Regions from separate parts of the Homo sapiens genome. Here region 2 is linked to region 1. Evidence: promoter capture Hi-C in human tissues and cell types (Jung and others, 2019). All regions are on one chromosome and are shown on one strand. The core of a region is centred on a gene start or on the middle of the fragment in contact, and the rest is flanking DNA. Distances in the headings are between cores, read along the strand shown.

Region 1 (7,124 bases), core at 3,914-6,413:
AAGGTGTAGACCCAGCTGCGTCATGATTTTCGTAGGAGCCTTGAAAATCAAGCTAAGGAATTTGTATTTTTGATTCTATAAGTAATGGAGGGGGGCATTAAAAGATTTTGTGCAGGAGAATCTATGACTCAAGTTAGGTTTCAGTAAATTTAGTTGGTTTTGAGTGGGGAGAAGCAGTTAGTGCAAATAGGATGTAACCCTCATGGCCTAGAAAGGATGCTGAGAACATAATCTTGGTGGTAGAAATGGAAATTGAAGGAAGAGACAGATATAAAATACAGAAAGAACCAACAAGTCTTGGTGACTTATTCATCATGATGAGAATACCATAGAGAAGGAGACTCTTGCTTTTTTTTTTTTTTAACAACATGCCTCAAAAAATGTTGCCACGATAATTGTTTTCAGAAGATAGAGCATGTCTTTTTAGACATACTGACTTTAAGGTGCTGGTAAAACTTTCTTATGAGTCTGACGAGCAGAAGAGGAATGGAGCAGACTATACACTCAAGAGATAACTCCCCATCAAAATAAGAATCAAAGCCACACTTTGATTAGGAAGAGAGTATAGAGGGAGAAGATAATTAAAAGACAACCATGTGAAAGGCTGCACAAAATGGGCAAAAAGAGGAAATAAGTGTCATAAAAGGAGATCTGGCTGGGCGCGGTAGCTCACGCCTGTAATCCTAGCACTTTGGGAGGCCGAGGCAGGAGGATCACTTGAGGTCAGGAGTTCAAAACCAGCCTGACCAACGTGGTGAAACGCCATCTCTACTAAAAATACAAAAAGAAAAAAAAAATTAGTCGGGCATGGTGGCGGGTGCACCCGTGATCCTGGCTACTCGGGAGGCTGAGGCAGGAGAAATGCTTGAACCCAAGAGGCAGAGATTGCAGCGAGCCAAGGTCACGCCACTGCACTCCACCCTGGGCAACAGAATGAGACTCCGTCTCAAAAAAAAAAAAAAAAAAAAAAGAGAGATCTGAGAGAAATCAGAGAAAGGAGAATAATTCAGTGCAAGTGGGAAAGGCTTCATTCATTCAATATCTGTTGTTGAGCAAATATTACAAGTCAGACTTCATGCTCAATACTGGGGATAAAGTGGTGGACAGGACAGAATACTTCTGCTCTCACAGAGCTCACAGTCTTCCAACACATGTTGGTAAACAGCATGAAACATCCCAGTGAGTTCAGGACGACACGAATTGAGAAAAGTCCCTCAGGACCTTTAACCAAATGAATACTTTTGGAATGAAATGGGTGCTTCAATGCCCAAGGGTAAATTAATTTATAATAATGGGTGCAGTTATATAATTTTGAAAGATTTTTCAGACTTGCAAAGGATCCTTGAACAAACAAAATACTCATCTCCCCACAACCCCCTCCCTGCCTCACACGTTAATCTACTTGAAATAGTCGCTAAGAAGAGAGGCTATTAAGTAAAAAAACACATTCTGTTATGTATTATTGAAAAGCAATATTATTCACATGTTCTGGAAAAAGTGAGAACACGAAAAATAAATAAAAGGACAAAAAATAGTAAGAAGGGCTTAATAATTTAAGCCCAGAAATATATCTTCAAAACAATCAACCACTACCTGGCCTACAATTCTCCAGAAATCTTGCACACAGATTTTATATTGCATGGCTCATTAATTTCCAAACCATCCACAGCTTTATTTTATGAGAGGGCATAAGCTTCAGGCCTGGGGAGAGAGGGTGGCTGAATTTCAACACTTTGTCCTATCATTTGTTTAGTACACCTCTTACATTTATATGACATAAAGAAAATAAAATAATGATTGTATGATGAAAAGCTTTTCATGGATTCAGAATAAATGGATTTTTCAATATTACCCTTGTGGAATTACTAATTTGAGTTTGCCTTATTTTTAAAACACATGAAACTTAAGCCAAAGCCACGATACATCCATCAAATGGCAATTCAAAATTGAAGACATTTTTTTACTCTACTATTGAAACATACATTTTCCTCATTTTTAGTTGTAGATTACATCACATAACATCTGCCATCTCTAAGTTAGATGGCACAAATTAAGGACACCAATGAATAATTTTGTAGTTTTTTTTTTCCTCTGACCTTGTTTCTGATTCTCTTTCAAACATAGTTGAATTATCATCTCCCTCAGTCTCTCCACTGTTAGCAGGATTACGTTCTGATTTTATAGCAGGAGTGCAAAATATGGGATTAGACAATGAAATGAAAAATGTATTTTGGTCAGGCTTTGGGTTTAACATGGAAGCTGGCAGGGCAAAAGTGAGCACTCTAATTTGTAAGAAACCTTCTCTACTTGTATGTACTTATGCACAACTCACCCATTTTCTGTCCTCTCTGGCATTAACAATGTCAATTACAGTGATTTACAGGTGGTGTTCATCAGTTAGCATACTAGATGCGTTTACTTGTTGAGAAGAGAGTACGGAACGAACTTTTTAAACTAAATTATTATAAAGTTTCAGAATTGCAACTCGACTCTGTTCTGTCATTTCCAACATTTCCTCTCTACTTTCCATTCATGTAGTTTCATCCTTTGCCTTTCAGCAAACCATTTTTCACAGTGTTCTATCTCTAAGTCAGGTCATAAAATACATACACGTACGCACACAGACTCACACTTCTCTAATTCTTGATTTCTCTATCATCCACCTACATTTCTCTCAGTTAGATCTTCCAGTTAAATTTTGCTTAGATTCCAGCTAAATCATCTTATAAACCTCCATTCCAGAGATATATATTCAAGGAAAAACTGTATCATAGTACAAGATAGTTTGGGAGTTATATAAATAGCCTACTTATTGGAAAGAGAACAAGAGATCGGGACTATTATTTTAAAACAAAAATGGAAGACAGAGTTTAAGCCTTTAAAAATCATCCCTTCTCATCCCAGGATTAGTAAAGACCATCCTATATCTGATCACAAGTAAGCAAAGTACTTATGCATATGTTTGGTGAAAATAGTATTACATATTTGGGGATCATTCTCTAATATTAGCTTTGAAGCAATATCAACAAGAATAAAAAAGATAATCCAAACTATTTTTTTCTTTATTCTTCTCATCATATGACAACTAACTAAAAATTTGTGAATACAATTCAAGAAACAGGTGTCAAATCAATTCTCAGCCAGAAAACTCATCACTTTGGTCTCACCTTAGCCAAGGTATAAAACAACATATTTCTGTTCTCTAAATAAACAGTGAACACATGCTGATTCTGGAGATAGCAGTAAAAGGTTTGCTTTTTTAAATGTATAGTACTCCCCAGGTGTGACTTCATCTTCATTTCCCATTTATAGTGATTATGGCCACCCATGACCCTGTGCATAGTCTAGACATGCTGATTCAATCCCCATCCGGTTGATGGAAGAACAGGTACAGTCAAAGAGCTGTGGTCACTGAGGAGCCAAGCAATGCAAGCCATCCAGATCCTGAGACGACATTCCTGCCATCTGCTCCAGCCTTGAGTTCCCTGGGCTGCCGTGTGTGAATGTGTCTCTAATAGGACAGCGCTAGCCCTCTACCCTGTTTATTCTAAAGAACTGCAAAGACAGAGACCCTACGAACTCAACTCAACACCCCAAAACTACTCAGCCCTCTACATTAAACACGCCACTCAGGAAACATTTGATCTCTTAAAGATTGTAAGCATTTCTCACAAGAGATAATCTACTTATGCTTGGCTCGTAATGAGTGGGCATCTCCAGGCATAAGTGAAAACAGAACTAAACACAGTTACAAGTCAAATGTGGGGCTTTACAGGTGATGTTCATATTATTTTTTCCAGTCCAAAAGGATTAAGACTGTTCTCTTTAAAATTTCATATTCAAGTGAGACTAGTGTCCTCCCGGTTACGATGACCTTAACTATTGGAGTGAGGAAAAGAAAGGGAGGGTGTCCATTTCCATTTCTCATGGCCATAAATTCGAATGATTGACTCAAGTTGTTGAGGTGACTCCATTTCCCTGAGTACTAAAGAAGGCAGCAAGTGGAAACACCTCTTTGCTTGCAAGTTTACAGCCCTCGAGTCCAAGTTTTTCACCCTCTAAACCCAAACTATGCTATAGCCATATGTGACCCCTTAGCTTATGTAATCAGGGAGAGGTCCAGCCCTTTATCACTCTCATGTGCCCCAAAATCACTTCCATTCTCTTTCCGGCTCCTGTAAAATACTCTGTACACATCAAAACCACCTAATAACAAATCGATGCAACCCAAGACGCTTTGTGGAAGGGCATCGTCTCCTATTTCTCTATGGATCCCACCAAACAGCAAAACATTTCTCCCTGCTTTCGCAGAACGCACGTTTCTCTGAAAGCCAAGCTCCTAACACAGTGCCCGATACCTTAACAAGGCTGTACTGTATATAAATTATTTGCAAGTGTCACTGAGGACCATTTTCTCTGAACACACTAAACTGAAGCTAGCCATAAAACAAGCCATACGCTCCTGCTTTAGAATCTGACATGGGCAAGATGCCGCCAGTATATTACCAGGGGACAAAAATACAGTTGTAATGAAGAAACGTGTGGGGGCATGAAGGAAAAGTGGAAGGCGAGGATCAATACTATTTCAGCTCATTAATCCCCAGGTGTTAGGGGAAGGAAGCGTGCGGTCTGGAGTCATCTGGCAGATGCATAAACAACCTCGGAAATTTTCAGAGAAGGCAAAAGTACGCACAGGATCGCAGGGGACCCTGCCACCGGCGAGTTTCAAACACACTTCAAACATCTTTTCTTCCCCGACCTGGATCTTGCATGCACCCCCCTCTCCTTTGCACCCCATTCCTGCCGCTCCCACCTCCCCTTCCCAGTCCCGCCAGGTGACTGTGTCTCATGCAGCGAAGGCAACAAGCGTCCCCAGCCGAGGAAGGGAAGGGGCAGCCGTCTTGGCTCGCGAGGGAAGGAGGGCGGAAGCGGGCGCCCGCTCGCAAGCTTATTGCATCCTACCGCCTGTAGAGCTGGCCTCCTCCAGCTGAGCCGAAATGCTTTCCACCCTCCTCACATTCATGTCTAGGGACGCAGGGTGCAGAAGCGAGACTCGAGAGTCCACCGGCCAGGGGCGTCTGTCCACGGGTCTGCACGGGAGCGCACCGCCGCTCGGCCCGGGGGCGTCCGTGGCGCTGGGAGCGAGAGCTTCGGCGGCGGCTGCGGGCAGGGCGCGCGGAGCGGGCTGCAGGTGCGGGCGGAGGCCGGCGGGGGGCGCCGGGGGCGCTGCGCGGCCCTTGGCGGCGGGGGCGCGCGGGGTGGCGGGGGAGGCCGAGGCGCCGGCAGCTTCGCGCCGGCGGCTGGAAGCGGGCGGGCTGCACGGGCGGCTCGAGTGCGGGGACCCCAGCCCCTCGCCCTCGTGAGCGCCGCCCCTGCCACCTGCTGCCAAGTCACCGGACTGGGGATGCGGGGGGCGGGGTGCGGGGAGAGGAAAGCGCCGCGGGTGGCACGGTGCCTCTGGCGACAGAGTAGATGGACCCGAAAGAGACCCGAGGTGACTTCGGGCTGGGCAGGACACCCCCGGGAGTTGCCAGCGGCTCTCAGCGGGCGCCTCTAGGACCCCTTGTCACTGCGAGCAGCGCCTGCTCTGGGGAGGGGCTCGAAGGCGCCGCGCCTTCTCAACGCGCCGCTGCGTCCCCCAGGGGCTCCAACTTGGACAGCTAGACTGGAAATACTGCTGCACAAAGTTAGGCTGAGTTCGAAGGACACCAGAGAGGAAGCGCAAGGAGATGCCCTTCTCCGGAGCCGGGCAGAGCGCCAGAACTCCTAGACGGGAAACTTTCCCCCATTGAAGCTAGAACCGGTCATGCGACTCGGCTAAGTGTGGGGAAACACTGGCTCTAGACTCCAGGTGAACATCGCAGGGCCGAGGTGCAGAATACCACCTTGGAGAGAGGGGGTGGCATAGACTGGTGGCATTTTGGAGAAGCATCCATGTGGGGGGTTTCATTTGAGATCTCCCAGGCAGGTCAACCAGGAGGTATCGCTCACCACCCGCAAGGTCATTTGCCCTTCTAAAGCACAGTAAGGCCGGGAATAGTTGGGAAGGTAAAGAGAAACCAATAGACCACTTGTGGCCATGGTTACTGTTTGAGAAGTCAAAATTAAAATGCAGATTTCTGTGTCCCCAAGAGTCAAGTGCATGAAGCCTCTCTTTTCAGAAGAAAGGTCAAGTTGACCCGTTCTCCAGGCAAACTGAATTAAAATTCCCTCTCACTCTCAGCTGCAAGGTCAGTTGGCCATGACTTGGGTGGAAGCCATTTCTAAGTGTTTGTGAAACTATTTGCCTTCCCTATGGCTGCTGGATTATTTATACACACTGTCACCAAGTGAAATCTTCCCCCTTTCTCCAAGTAGGTCTCAATTGACACCTTATTGCCCTTCTCCCCACCCCCAAACGCACGAGCGATTTACTTAGTCCTTTGAGCCCTTGTAGCATGTATTTGTATATTTCTTGAGAGCCTTTTACTCTTTTAGTTCATTGTTAAGGAGACAGATGCTGACACCCCATTGTCTGGGTTCAAATCCTAGTTCCACTACTTCATAATCCTGTGGCCTGGTACAAATATCAGCTATAACTGGTACCTACATTATTGTTTTGTTGTGAGGATTTAAGAAAATCAATAGATGCAAAGGGCTTAGAGCCGTGACTGGCATGTAGCAATCACTGTATAAAGACAGGCAACCCTGATTCTTGAAGTTGAGAACAATGTTATATTGACAAAGCAATTAGAAAAGTTCCTTGCACATAGTTGGTCTTCACTAAACATTTGTTTTTTCATTATTCAGCAAACATCTAGTAACTACTGTGTACAAGACACAATTATAGGCACTGGGATACCACAGTGAATACAACAAAGACCCTCAGTTATTGGCTGACTATCTAGAAGGCAGAGAGACTGACAATAAATCAAGGAATCAGAAGTGATCTGCTAGGGAGATCACTTTTATATAGGGGGTCCATAAGGGCTTTATGAAAGAGGCAACATTTAATTGGAATCCTGATGAAAGCGAGGAGCTAGCCATGGGCATCTCAAGGGAAAAAGAACTTCCAAGCAGAGAGAAGAGCAAGAGCTAACATAAGAATAGCATGTTTGCAGGGCAGCCAGGAGGTTGACAGGGCT
Region 2 (7,208 bases), core at 2,830-5,329, 72 kb before region 1:
CTTAGATTCCACTTGGAAGTGGTCTGGAACTTAAAACCTAATCATTCATGATTTCCAACATGGTCCATTAGCTCCAATATTCATGTATAGATTCATTGATATCATTAGTAAAAATCTTTAGAAATGTGAACCACAGAAAGGTATCCACCATTTTGTATGTGCATTTTCTCTGTCACTTTTCAAAGTATGACAGAAGTAGAGAGAACCACGTTGTCCAAATAAAACCCAATCTCTTTGAATGTTTAAATATTAAATTAATTTATTCAACAAAGATTTAGAGAGCCTTCCAGGTATAAGGTGATATATACTTGAAACGAGCTTGTAGTAAAAAGGTTTCCTCTCATAGAAAAGGAGTGTTACTAAACCTAAATGATACAATGCATTATGCAAACCAACCACTCAGCTGACCCACAGTTGAAAGCACTTACTGCCTCATAGCCATGCCCATCAATTACAGAACTCATTTCTGCTGAGCCCTAGATAGACCTGAAAATCTACCTCAAAAGAACAATGCAAAAACAGTATTATCAGTCCATCAGAATTAAAAGAAATGAAAATAATTTGGCCTTTTAGAGTTAGCTAATACACACATACCACAGTGCCTGGCACAAAATAGTCACTGAGAAAATGTTTGGTCAATGAATGATTCACTGAATTCACTGTTGAAAGACTGAATTATTACTATTGGACAAAATCATGAGACTAAACATTTAGGACAATCTATCTGAACATACAAACAGCCTTGCCAACCACAACAAAATTATAAAAATAAGACCCAAAGGAATCCCTAATTGAAAGCATCCCGGTTACAAAATAAGTCCTGAAGTGAATTCTGTAAACAGATCAATAGGAAGTTTCAAATAAATAGGTCTTGTAGGAGTAATCAATGCTGTCTGGGTGAAAGATTCAGCAGGCTTCTAAACAACAGAGGGCATTTATCTTTGAACAGATTCCTTGGCCATTTGAGGGCAGGAAGGTGAACAAGGCTGAGACCTATTGTCAGGCTAGCTGAAATTCTACCTCCCCATGCATTTTGTTCACTCTGCTCACACAAGATAATTTGCTTGCTCTCTCTACATTTTCTGAAGACTTGCAAGGCAAAAATCCTGGGCTCTTGCCAAGCTGTATTACATTCACTGTGACTGATACGCATAGCCGCAACAAGGAGTAGCACTGTTATTCGAAGGGGGCACTTAACCATATCATTGGGTGGAATTGTTAGACCAGAATGGTTATGTCACATTCGATTACAATGTACACAACATGTTAAGTCTAAAGCAGGAATTATTTATAGAACCCAACTTTCATTGTTAGAGAAGCTTCCTGAGACTGCTTGAATTCTTACTGTTCCCTCCTTCTCTAAATTGCTAAATGTATCTTTTAATATTTTGCTGACTAATCTCAGTTGCCTCTTCACATTTACTCTCTGTCCTTCTCCATCATGCTGCATGAGGCCGTCTGTCCAAACTGCTTTACCTGGGTTCCTGAGCTCTCTGGCTTTCAGCTGGTTTGGGGGTTGATGGAGACAGACATTAGAATGTATGTTCTCTGGGATCTGACCCACAGAGGGAGAGAGAATGGCTGTGCTCCTTTAGATAAGGCTGTAACTCCTATCAGGAGGTATTTCCCTGCAGTGATAGCCACAGCTCTCTCCAGATTCTGGAAAAGGCTTCTTCCCCTCTCAGTTTCATGGGTTAGTAATGGCTCCTGATATTTGCTACTCCTTGGGTGCTACACCATTCTATTTTGCTTCTCTTTTTTACCCACAAATTGGTAAATTGTTCTCTCACTTAACCTCTCTTCAATCACCCTATTTCATGCCAGGATTCTAATTTATATAAATACATATCACAACATTTAGCATTCTTTTTACTATTTTTACTACCTTTCCATATTTCCCATCTGATTCCTGTATAAATTTCTAATTTCTAACTTGATTGTATTTCTCTGAAACAAGGAGTGTGCCACATCCTCTGGGCTCATAAGATTTCAATAGAGGGTAGGAATTGATGTGGTTCTCGAACTCTTATTGCTGGGAAGGAGGCATATTTGAGAAGAGTTCTGACAACAAACAACGACAACTAAAAATTGTTGAGAGCTCACTATCTGCCAGACAACTGTGACAGACATTTTCCCTATAAGTCTGTGTTTTATATAACTACCTTGTAAGTTATATCTTATTATTGTCATTTCTTAAGATAAGGAATCTGAGGCACAAATGTAACTTAAACAAGGTCACAGAGCTAGTCAGTAGAAAAGCCACGATGCAGACTTGGGTCTGTCTGATTCCTGAGTTCATGCCCTTTCCCACTATTTGAGATCATCACTCATAATGGACACCATGACTATTGCTCCAGTGAGCCAACTGCTGCAAATAGAGCTGATTCTTCATTAGACACAGAGTCACCAGCAGCCAATAGAGACAGGATTTGATTAATTCTGGAATTAAATTCAAACAAATAAATAGATAGAAATAAGTATTTCTGTGGTTCATGTTTTTCACCTATTTACTCATAAAATGCTTTTCTACGTTGAAATAGTCAGTGGTGATTTGGACATGTTGCACTTAGTACTCCATATCTGTGAGTTGTATTAGGCATTTCTATACCAGTAGAAGTGATTTTTTTGGCACAATGTCTAGTATGCTGTAAGCACTTAATAAGTATTATAATCAATTAAGTTGTTATAGAAGCCTTCTTGTCACCGGAAATCAATGCCTGTGTTCAGCACTGAGAGAAGAACATTGTATCCTTCACAAACAAATACGATTTTTGATTATTTGATGCTGAAAAATTAAATATGGCAAATTTTCAGATGAGTATAATTGCACTGTATTAATCACACAGGCCTGATTTCATTATAGTAAATGCTAATTTAATGTCAGATGCATTTTTTCTAATTGGCACGAGAAATGCTTTTACTTCACATGCCACATGAAAATATTTCAGATCATAGAATTTCAGAAGAAAATACAAGCTTATTGACTTAGAGGCATTTCAGGACAAGTAAAATACATTCAAATTATGGTCTACATAGAAAAAGGAGACTTCAGAAAAATCAATTTAAGTTCTTAATTGTTTTTGAACCATGGATCCCTTTCACAGTTTTGTGAAGCCTATGGCCTTCTTCTCAAAACAATGCTTTCCAATGAATAAAAGAAAATACACAGGTCCATAAAGAAAATTAATCATATTGAAAAAAGCTATAAAAATATTACAAAAGTAAAATTGTGACATAGTGATACACTTCACTATGAACGTATTAACTATCAATATGTAGAAATGGGTCAAATACTGTAATTTTTAACTATATCTGTAACAACTGCAATGTGATATTATGATTATGATTCTATCTATGATTTTACTGGAGGCAAAGTTGCACATAATCTCTGTGCTTTGTTGCTTACACACCCATAATTTAAGGACCTTAAATTCACTGGAAGTTAGTAAAATAAAGATTACATTTTTATTCCTATGTAAGTTCACTGAACCCTTAAATTCTATTGGTGGGTCCTGGGTTAAGAAGCAGAAGCAGGATTGTAAGCGGAGTACTAAATGAGGAAATACATTAATTAGAAAGACAGGAGGAAGGAAAAGACTCCCTTTCTCCAAGACTAAGTGGAAAGAAAACTGGGGCTGTTCGAGTGGAATTAATTTTAGAGCCAAATATACTCTTGCTCCACAGAACAAAATAAAATGCTATTTTAAAAAAATAAGTTAAAATAGATTTCAAGCAGACTGCCTCATGAAAGTCTTTGAAAACAGAATGTGCTGAATTTTGAAGTGATTGACAGGATGAAGTGTTTTTTAAAATTTCTAATGTATATTTCATCATAAAAAAGTGAGTGAAAGTTCAAAAAAAGAAAATGGTAGGACTATACATTTATTTTATATACATGATAAAATCAAACATGTTTTGTCAACGGGAGACTTGAGTCTGGATTATTTATGTTAGCACACTCTCAAATTTGTAGTGATAACAGGCCATGTGCAAGCCAGTCCATCTGCTAGTGGCCAGACAATCTTAGACAGGCACCACTCAATTGCCTGGATTAGGAGAAAAAAAAAAAGGATTAAAGATCAGCAAAAATACACTGACTAAGAACAATATCAGCAGATTTAAAAATAGGTCCATTAAAACCAAATACTGGGCTGGGTGCAGAGGTTCACAACTGTAATCCCAGCACTTTGGGAGGCCGAGGCGATGGATCACCTGAGGTAAAGAGTTCAAGAACAGCCTGACCAACATGGTGAAACCACATCTCTACTGAAAATACAAAAATTAGCCAAGTGTGGTGGCGGGTCCCTGTAATCAGAGCTACTTGGGAGGCTGAGGCAGGAGAATTGCTTGAACCCGAGAGATGGAGGTTGCAGTGAGCTGAGATGGCACCACTGCACTCCAGCCTGGGCAACAAGAGTGAAACTCCATCTCAAAAATAAATAAATAAATAAATAAATAAAACCAAACACTGAGTTACCATTGTCATTAAATGTATAACATAGGACCAAGGTTGGTTTTATGGTGTTACCCTAGAATGGATCAGGAATTTAGAGGGCATATAGTAAGTATTACTCAACAGGACTAAATGGTCACCATAGTAACAATCTAGTTACTCTGTATCTTAAGTCTCTCCTCCTAATTTCCCTCTTCAATGGCCACACTGAATTTCCGGGTTCTTGGTTTTTCCTACCACTCTCCTTTGTTCTCTGGCAATGACTGCCCTCCTGCCTACCTGATTTTTCACCACTGCATATTCTGACCTGAAGAACTTAGTTCCATTTTAGTACAGATGACTAATCTCCCTGCAGATGCCTCTATTCTTCCTGGACCACCAGGTGTTCTCTAGTCCTGCTTCTGTTTCTAACCCTTCTCCTTTTACAAGAATATCTCTTAGATATTAAATCTTGGTCCAGCAAAAACCTAGAAGGCCTTTTCTCTCCATGTCACACAATAGACACTGAGGAATGTTCTGGGGTTGTGGACAAAGAGCCAGAGCCTTCTCAGAACAATTCAGATATGCTGAGTGAGCACAGAGAGATTTCTGAGAACAGGAGGGTAAGAACTTCCAGAGAACACAGGCCCATGGAAACTTACACTTTTGTATGTGTGTGTTTTGGGTGTTTGTTTGTTTGTTGTTTGTTTTGAGATGCAGTCTCTCTCTGTTGCCCAGGCTGGAGTGCAGTGGCACAGTCTCAGCTCACTGTAACCAGTGGTATGGTCTCTGCTGACTGTAGCCTCCACCTTTCAGATGCAAGTCATTCTCCTGCCTCAGCCACCCAAGTAGCTGGGATTACAGGCACACACCACCACGCACAGCTAATTTTTGTATTTTTAGAAGAGACAGAGTTTCACCATGTTGGCCAGGCTGGTCTCTAACTCCTAATCTCAAGCGATCCACCTGCCTCGACCTCCCAAAGTGCTGGGATTACAGGCATGAGCCACAGTACCCGGCCTTGCCCTTTTGATTTGAAGATCACTGTGTCCTCTGATCAACACTTTCTGCATACAGAATAGTTTTCACATCTTCTGCCTATATTAATTAAGTTCATATTGTTTTCTGCTATTGGTCTGCATTCTTTCACCTACTACCATCACCCTTTCAAGAAGTATGTACTTTCTCTGCAAATTAATGTTCCTGGTCCCTTCCAGCTAAACCTGGCAATACCCAAGATGACAATGAGCAATGCTTTCAACATTATTTTAGCAAATTTACTACTTTAAAGCTTAGGTCACCCTTAGGGCAATTTCTATATTTAAATGAATTATTTTATTTTCTTTTTATTCTGGACAACATGAACACAAACGTGAAGACTCATAGACAATACAATGAAATATGGTCAGACAAGCAAGCTACATGTACTTCCCACACCTTGTGGGCCTCAGTACTCTCGTTTTTACAAAAAGGACAGTGGATGTTATTAGAATGAAGTGAGATGAACATAAAGAAGTGAGCTGAGTACTACTTAGTGTCTCCTTAATTGGGAGTTCCAAGACCCTTGTGGGTCCGTGGCAATACTTTCACTTACTTATGATGAAATTCAAAGAAAAATGCAATGAATTTTTCAGAAGACAAAATTTATCCAACTAAAATATTGTTTTGTATCCTTAGATTATCATGTGCTGCCTACATTTTTGGGTAGAGCTCTTTCTTTCATAAAATCATTATGATTATAGACAGTAGCTTTTCCCCCCTTAGGTCCTTTATATTGCAAAATGAAAATATGAACATATGCCATGTGATCACAGTCCGCTTTTTAAAAAAATTGCACACCCTCAAGGAACTTAGAGAGGTCTGAAAAGCTTAGATCCTTGTCATAAGGCAAAAAAGTTTCTAAGCATAGTTGAACTCTTAGTTGTCTTGGAAGCTCAGAGGTATCATATTGAAACCAAGCAAACCCCATGAACTGGAAATGTTTTGGCAGTGCTACTCACCCCTATCCCTCAGCATCCTCTCCCTGTCAGAGGCCGCGGACCTGTGAGTCACTCCTCTCAAATCAGAGGCCAATCTGACCAGCATGGCTGCCCCCTTCAGGCAAGCCTGACTGTTGGCTGAAGAGTTCCCTGGACTCCTGCATTCAGGCTTCTTGTCCAAACTTTAACTCAATAGATCGACTTCATCATTTTGTTCTGTTTTCCTGAATATAAAGTCATGTCTTGCATATTGTAAAGATGTAGAAAACACAGGAAAGTATCAAGAAGGAAAATGGAACTCATCAATAACCCACCATTAAAGACAACCAATTTTTCCCTTTGAGTATTATTTTCTTGTTTCGATAATTCATATATTATTTTTATTTTTATATAATTTGAATAATAATCTATTGATATGGTTTCGCTGTGTCCTCACCCAAATCTCATCTTATAGTTCCCATAATCCCCACATGTCATGGAAGGGACCCGGTGGGAGGTAATTGAATCATGGAGGCAGTTACCTCCACGTTAGTCTCATGATCGTAAGTTTTCATGAGATCTGATGGTTTTATAAGGGGCTTTTTTTCCCCACTTTCACTCTGCACTTCGCCTTCTTGCCGTCATGCAAAGAAGGATGTGTTTGCTTTCCCTTCCACCATGATTGTAAGTTTCCTGAGGCTTCCCCAGCCCTGCAAAAGTGTGAGTCAATTAAACCTCTTTCCTTTATAAATTACCCAGTCTCAGGTATGTCTTATTAGCGGCGTGAGAATGGACTAATACATCTATGTATAGTTGAC

Evidence for each region. The method cuts DNA at HindIII sites, captures the fragments that hold promoters and counts their contacts. A contact is called where the count stands out against the background at its distance.
Region 2: a fragment that was not itself captured here is called in contact with the fragment with the promoter of KCNIP4 in region 1 in 3 of the 25 tissues and cell types used here (H1 embryonic stem cells, dorsolateral prefrontal cortex and pancreas).

What each region holds. Positions count from the first base shown.
Region 1 is chr4:21,943,609-21,950,732 of GRCh38, forward strand. It overlaps KCNIP4 (potassium voltage-gated channel interacting protein 4), which reads right to left and starts at 5,164. Exons shown (of 9, transcript NM_025221.6): 1 at 4,963-5,164. The coding sequence starts at 5,023. RefSeq lists enhancers at 5,111-5,611, 5,612-6,112. The HindIII fragment of the contact is 8,414 bases long and covers 3,380-7,124 here.
Region 2 is chr4:21,872,923-21,880,130 of GRCh38, forward strand. All of the region lies in intron 1 of KCNIP4 (potassium voltage-gated channel interacting protein 4), which reads right to left. Among named protein-coding and RNA genes, the nearest start is that of KCNIP4-IT1, 23 kb to the left of the region's middle. The HindIII fragment of the contact is 3,864 bases long and covers 2,148-6,011 here.